Regions from separate parts of the Homo sapiens genome. Here region 2 is linked to region 1. The links are contacts of gene promoters, found by promoter capture Hi-C in blood cells and fetal thymus (Javierre and others, 2016). All regions are on one chromosome and are shown on one strand. The core of a region is centred on a gene start or on the middle of the fragment in contact, and the rest is flanking DNA. Distances in the headings are between cores, read along the strand shown. Region 1 holds the start of LRRTM3 (leucine rich repeat transmembrane neuronal 3). Region 2 has its middle 58 kb from the start of LINC02671.

Region 1 (3,630 bases), core at 649-3,148:
GATAATTGTATTCTCCCTTAGACCTTTAAAACTTTTCAGCCAGTTTACAAGGGAGCAAATATTTCTGCTGCATTCCCATATATTCCCAGCAAGACTGATGTCATTGAGGGATATCCAAGAATCCAAAATCTCTTGACCAATAAATGTGAGCTTGTTGGAATCCAGGTTGAGGCGCTGCAGATTCGGGACACACTGGAAAACACTGGGTCCACTGAAAGCTTCGATCTCATTGCCTGATAAATCAAGCCTTTGTAAGGAGCTCCAGGTCCAGGACATGGTCTGTCCTATGACACTGATTTTATTCCACTGCAAGTAAAGGTTCTGAAGGCTGACCAACCTTGGAAAAAGGGCCAGGTTGAGCTTGGAAAATTGATTGTGCTCCAGGTGAAGTTCTTTGAGTCTGATCATGCCAGCAAAGACATTCCTGGCTAAACTTCGGATCCGGTTATATCCCAGGTCCAAAAGTTCCAGGTTGCGGCAGTCTTGGAATATTCGCACAGGGATGGTTCTCAGGGAGTTAGACCGTAAATGTAAACTCAGCAGCTTCCGCAAGCCCCGAAACTGTTCAGATCCCAGAGAATGCAGCTGATTATAGGACAGATCCAAGTTCCGTAAATTTGTCACAGGTCTGAAGGTATTGTTAAGAAAATAGGAGATTCTATTGGAACTAAGAATCAGCTCTTTGAGTCTGCGTATTCCATTAAAAGCATTTTCGTCAATATTGCTGATATGGTTATGGTCAAGGTATAGCCAGGTGAGCTGGTTGAGCCCTTTAAATTGATTATACTTAAGTTTTTGAAGGCTGTTATAGCGAAGGGACAAACCTAAGCAACCAGCAGATATACTTGAGGGTATCTCCTGTAATTTCTGAGATTCACAATATACCATTTTGCCTTCACACCTACAGCCCTTAGGGCATCCTCGTTCGGCAGAAGAAAGCATTGTCAGTAAGACAGTGGGGGCTATAACCAGTGCTACAGCTGATCCGCTCAGTAGCCTAATTACATTGAAACCTGGAAATAAAAACAACTTAGAAAAGTTATCCCCCCAAAAAAGAATTAATCCTTAATCAAGCAAAAATAGGCATATATTTTTCATTTTTAAAAATTTAAATCTAAATAACACTTAACATCACATATTATCTCTTTGTAATTAAAGAGAATTGTCTTTAGTGTTTTGTTTTTTTAAATAGTTAAACAAGGAAACATGCCACTAAGCAAATAAATTCATAGTCTTAGAGCAGAGCAAGGTAATCTCTAAAATAATTAAGGCAGAATTATTACACACACTAGAGGTTTTTTGTTTTTTGTTTTTAAGAAGGAAAGAAGAAAAATGACAAAACATACCCATCCTTTGTATTGTTCAAAGGTCGTCCTTAGGTCTTTTGCTTTGGCTTAGGGGCCAGTTGCATGACAGCCCCTGTCAGCTGCACTGTAGTGAGTCAGGGCTCGCTGACACCCAGGAAGAAAAATTGGACCCCTTGGGAGATGGACCGATTTTGGAACATTATTCTTTGCCAGCCACGCAGAACACTCCAAGAACAAATAAATCCCAACACCGCATTCGCAGCAAAACATCAAAATCTTCCTAGGTAATAGGATCTTCATGGATATTACGTTTTTGCATCTTTACAGTTTTTTGGGGGGTGGGGAGGGGGCGGTTAAAAAAAAAACTGGATCCTACAATTTCTTCTTATCGAAAAACATGATGTATTCTTCCAGGCAATTTGGGGCTACCTGAGCTGCCACATCTGTATTCCATACCCCAGCAGTTCCCGTGATGAGCACCCAGTTCAGCCACAGAGCTGCGTTGGAGCCCAGAAGGCAGGAGAGCCCCGTACCGCGCACACGCTCAGCTCACTTCTGCAGACTGTCATTCTGAAAGCTGCTCGGACTGTTGCTTTGGTTTCAGTGAATGCAGTCTTATGTAAAGCTGCCCCCAGTGGTGAAGAACATTATGGGCATGTGCAGAAATGTCTCTCTTTTATCTTGCAAATGAGCAGGCTCTCTGCTGGAAAATGAATGATTCTTTTGGGTGGCTCAGTAGGAACTGAATGGTCACCGTGATCAATAACTAGCAACATTTTCTGTGATTTCCAAGTCTTGTTTTACAATTTGGCAACGTCTTTATTGTCTGTGTCCACTTAATTGCTAAACATGTGCTGCCCAGAGTTTTTCTGGAGCTTGACATTAAGTTCACAGACCGAACGTCAATTTTTCTTAACCTCAACGCAGGCTTTAAACTGAAATTTATAAAATGAATTATTGAGCTTTTCACAGAGAAGCATTAACTGCCTGCCCATTTGACCTCTTGGAGTCACAGTGATTATATTATGCAAGGTGTCTCAGGATGTTAGAACACAAACATTTTGGAATAGAGGGGATGACTGATGACAAGTGAATTAATGTGTCCAATAGCCTTTCCGGTTTTCTCACAGACGATATAATTGATTTTATGGCTATAGTTTCGTTTGTTGTTTTGGTTGTTGTAATTCTCTTTTAATTAGAAGGGAAATAAACCATTTTTAGTGTTAGGATACGAATCAAGAGATCATTTGGTTCATACTTTATTGATGTTGCTGCTATTTATTACACTAATAATATTTATGGAGCACTTTCTAAGTGCTTTAAATGGGCTACGTTGTTTTCTCTTTAAACAATAGTATGATGTGGGTCCTATTATAACCTCTCTTTTAAAGATGAGGAAACAGACTTGGGGAGGTAACTTTCTCAAGGTCATACAGCAAGCGAGTGCTAGAGCTGAGCTTCAGAAGCGAGTCATTCTTATGCCGAACCACTAACCACTAGATGATCCTGTTCAACAACATTGTTATCTTCATTTAAAAAAGAAGTCAGTGAAAATGAAGCCGATTAAAGGATTGGGGCAAGGAAGCTGTGATTAGCAAATTCTTGCTTGTTCTATTAGAATTGCCTAAATTTCTTTTGGTCTGAGGTTCCTAAAGAAGTATAAAAACTAAGGCAGCGTAGTTTAGTGATTAACAGCATAGATTTTGGCACCTAGATTCCAACTCCTGGCTACAATTTACCAGCTATGTAACCTTAAGCGCGTTACTTACCTTCCCTATGCCTCAGTTTTCTCATCTGCAAAACGGGCATAAAAACAAAAACTCACTTCATGTTTTGAGAATTAAGTCATTTTAATATCTGTATGTTACTTAGAACAGTGTGTTGCATGCAATAAGCCTGTGTAAGATATTTGAATAATATTAACTTTATTTGTACTTGCTAGGATTACGTACTGAATATTGACTATACTGACCTTCATTAACTCACAAAGAACAACTTTAGTGAGCATTTTTAAATATTGTACATGGTGGATTTCTGAGATTTACTCAGTCTTGCCTTCTTTGATGAGATAACTTCCTTTATGTTCATCATCTGAACTTTATCTTTAAAATAAATCTTCTGGTTCTGTGGATCATGACTAATAATGTTCGATTCTTTTCATCTCCAAAGTAGAACATAATAACATCTGCCATGTAGAGGCATTTTATTTAAAAATAATGGTATTCTTGAAAAAGTTTGCCTTGTTGTTTTTTGTTAGGTGAACTGTCTGTGGAAAACCGTGGAGAGCTTTCACATTCTCCAAGGATGAGATGTTTGATAAAGG
Region 2 (3,630 bases), core at 359-2,858, 1.9 Mb after region 1:
CAATTGTTTAAAATTTTCATTGATAGCTCTGCTCATGTCTGCAGCTGATCTTGGTGCAGTAGTTTTGGCACCCATCAAGTGGAAAATTAATTCACCTTCAATTTTTAGTAAGAATTGTGTACAATGAACAAATAAAGATGTCTATAGTGTTGGTTATTGTTTGTACTGTTAATTTTAGATCCTCTTCAATTAGGACATGAACAAAATTAACTTTTTCTCAGAAATTGATGTACATAGTTTACCACTGCAGGCTTCATCTTCGATGTTGTCTTATCTTTTCTTAAGATGAGTATTTAAAAATCATCATTTGTAAGATGCTGATTTATTTGGAGCATTGCCCCCATAAACTTTCCATAAAGCATCAGTGATTCCACCATTTTTGCACACCAGCTTCACCATAAATTTGATGTTTTTCTTGTTTAAATTTTAGCAGAATTTATGTTGCTCTGATAGGAGTTTATTTTGAAATGATGTCTTATCCTTCCTAGTGCCTCAAACTAGATCTTGTTTGAATGTGTTATAACAAATTACTACAAGTTTATTTTGGTGCAAAAAAATAGAAATCCATGAATAGGTTTTGTATATTATGCATTTTTCATGAACTCTTTGAAGACTGTTGTATATCAAATATATGTAATGTATATTTATATAATGTATCAAATTTGTAATAAATAGACTATATATACTGTACCAGGAAAGATGCAAGAGAAAAATAGAATTATAAGGTATGTCATCTGACAGAGTTATGGGGCTCATTGATCTAAGCAACATAGAGTGACAGGGTGGACAAAATTAAAATTGATTCTAGATTTCAGACTTCATAAAATAAAAATATATTTACAATTGTATAAATTATAGGCAAAAAAAATCCAAAAAAAAATCAAAAACAATAATTGCACACTAATGACATCTTAGGAAAATGTGAAGTCAATACCTGATATTCTGGGTACTTGTGGGACAACTAAATATTCTAAAGAGAGTTGGAAGTTAAGTCTAAAGAATACTTCAGTAAAAGTAATAAATAAATAAGATTAAGGTGATTTTACCGTCCTCTCACCTGGAAAGTATTGGAACCAAAGTGTTCTTTCTGTTTGTCTTGTGGTAGTTTATTAAGTGATAATTTCCTATATAAAAATACTAAAAGAAAATTCAAAATCAATCAGAAATTCATTAGTTATGAACTGTTTATGTAGAATCAATGAGCTCTCTAGAGTAATTGATTCACAATATAAGCAATTGGATCTTGAGAGAAAAGTACATGATTAGTATAGTCATGTTTGACCCAAAGAATCAATAATATATGATTCAAAATACAAGTCCAATGAAATAACAAATGAGAACATAACATTTCTATCAATGTTAAAACAAGGTATTTTTATCTAAAATAAACATTTTTTTCTTAAGCTTCATATTTTGATTATTTCACCTATCATATATACAGTAGTGACAAGAGTTATTTTCTCAGTTTACATAATATATGTATGACAACACACATTGGGACAGCTAACAATAGCAGGAGCATGTTAATTTATGTTGATTATTGTGATAACCTTAGGCTTTTACAGAGTAGAGTAGGACCTAGAACCATGACAGGATAATTAACACAAGTGGAATGCAGTGTTATCTGGTGGGAAGAATATACAAAGGAGTTCATGCCTTAGATCTAGCTCTGCCACAGTTAACTTCTTCATTATCTAAAAAAGTGAAATAAGTGATGGCTGATCTTGCCTCTATTACTCTTTCATCACATGTGATTTAAACCAAGTTAATCAGTGTCTTCCAACTGTCTGCCCATGTAGTTGGTAAAGCTTTATCACAGATATTGAAGATGAGTAGCTTTCTCTTCTGAGATTGCTAAAGTGTTAGGATGAAAGCCAGAGGAGTTGGGCCAAATATCTGGATGAGGCACACTGCATCTATGGTCATATGCATCTAAACAAAGTATTGACATGGAAAAATACACACACACACACAGCAAAGAGAGAGAGACAGAGAGAGAGAACACATAACACAAGTATAATTACATTACTATTTTTTTATACTCATTTTAATGTTATTCCTGCCAGCCTCATGAGGTCTGTTTTATTTACCATGGAATTCTCAGGACATGTAAGTTTCTGACAGAGTACAGTCAATATATGTAGAAAACATAGATTAATTTAGCTTTGGTTCCCACAGAAGCAAAGCCTAAACAGAGATTTGATAGCATACCAGTAAGGAAAAGGTAAAGAGGGAAAGACAGATAATAATGTGCATTATTGGGCTGGTTACCACTGTAGGTAACTGGAGCTTGATCCTGCTGGAGTGCTCTGGAAGCTTTATTAGAACATACAATTCAGTTATCTCTCTTGAATGTGAAATAAGCTAGAATATTTATTTATAGCCTCCTGTCACTCAGTAAAAGGGTGCTCACAAAGTTCATTTTCCCCTACCCCGATATTTTGGCAAAATAGGCTCTGATGTCCAGAGAAAGTGCGATGAGTTCAATATCAGGCAATGTGCACTGATGTGGTAAGAGCAAAGGGTTCGCACTGACATCTGACATCTGACACCATCTAATCCATGGAACAGTTAATTGAATACATGGTTCCAGTCTTCTCAGGGTCAACCAGAAAATCCCTACTTGATGTAGTTTGAATGTTTGATTCCTGCAAACCTTATGTTGAAATTCGATTCCCAATATTGGAGGCAGGACCTAATGGAAGGAGCTAGGTCATGGGGCTGAATACCTCATGAATAGAATGATGCCACCTCTGGCAGGGGTAAGGAAAGCTGAGTGAGCTCTCCCTTTATTCATTCCTGAAAAAATTGGATGTTAAAATGAGCCTGGTACCTTCCCCTACCCCTTTGCTTCCTCTCTTGCCATGTGATCTTTGCACACACTAGCTTCCCTTTGCTTTTTGCCATTAGTGGAATCAGTCTATGGCCCTTACCAGAAGCCAAACAGATGCCAGTAACATGCTTCTCAAACAGCCTGCAGAACTGCAAGCTTCAAATAAGCCTTTTTTGTTTATTCATTACCGAGTCTCAGGTATTCCTTTATAGTAGCACGAAACAGACTAAGACAGGACTATCTTACTTTTCTAGTGCTTCTGTAGAAAAGTACAGAAAACTAGGTGGCTTAAACAATAGAAATTTTTATTGTCACAGTTTTAGAGGCTAGAGGTCCAAAATCAAGGAGTCAACAAGATTTGTTTTTTCTGAGGATCATGAAGGAGAATCTGTTCCATTACTGTCTCTTCTGGTAGCCTCAGATGTTTCTTGGTTTACAGATGGCATTCTTTCTGTGTCTTCACATCTTCTTCTATGCACATCTATCTCTGTGTCCAAATTTCCCCTTCTTATAAAGACATCAGTCATATTGAATTAGGACCCATCCTAATGATTTTGTCTTAACTTGATCATCTATAGTCATATTACTAATAATCCATAGGAAGGTCAAGGCCCCTCACATATCATTTCTCCTTTAAAAGTATAGTGTAGTACTATGGTAAGTGTCTTGCTAAAATGCAGATAAATCATTCATACTGTTTAATCCTGCCTATGAATTCCAATCATGTGCTAAAGGAAATCAATGTAGTCTGAAATGAAGTCTTCATTGTGAACTCTCCACTAGCTCTTCATCAAAGG

The links. The method cuts DNA at HindIII sites, captures the fragments that hold promoters and counts their contacts. A CHiCAGO score of 5 or more calls a contact.
Region 2: a contact is called between a fragment that was not itself captured here and the fragment with the promoter of LRRTM3 in region 1, in 1 of 17 cell types (M2 macrophages). The highest score is 6.1, in M2 macrophages.

The regions. Positions count from the first base shown.
Region 1 is chr10:66,924,304-66,927,933 of GRCh38, reverse strand. LRRTM3 (leucine rich repeat transmembrane neuronal 3) reads right to left here and starts at 1,898. Exons shown (of 3, transcript NM_178011.5): 1 at 1,347-1,898; 2 at 1-1,013. The coding sequence starts at 1,350. The region is part of intron 7 of CTNNA3 (catenin alpha 3); the gene reads left to right. All of the region lies in intron 3 of LOC101928961 (a long non-coding RNA gene), which reads left to right. RefSeq lists a silencer at 1,926-2,035 and an enhancer at 1,655-2,511. The HindIII fragment of the contact is 12,033 bases long and covers 221-3,630 here.
Region 2 is chr10:64,980,790-64,984,419 of GRCh38, reverse strand. No RefSeq gene overlaps it. Among named protein-coding and RNA genes, the nearest start is that of LINC02671, 58 kb to the right of the region's middle. The HindIII fragment of the contact is 404 bases long and covers 1,407-1,810 here.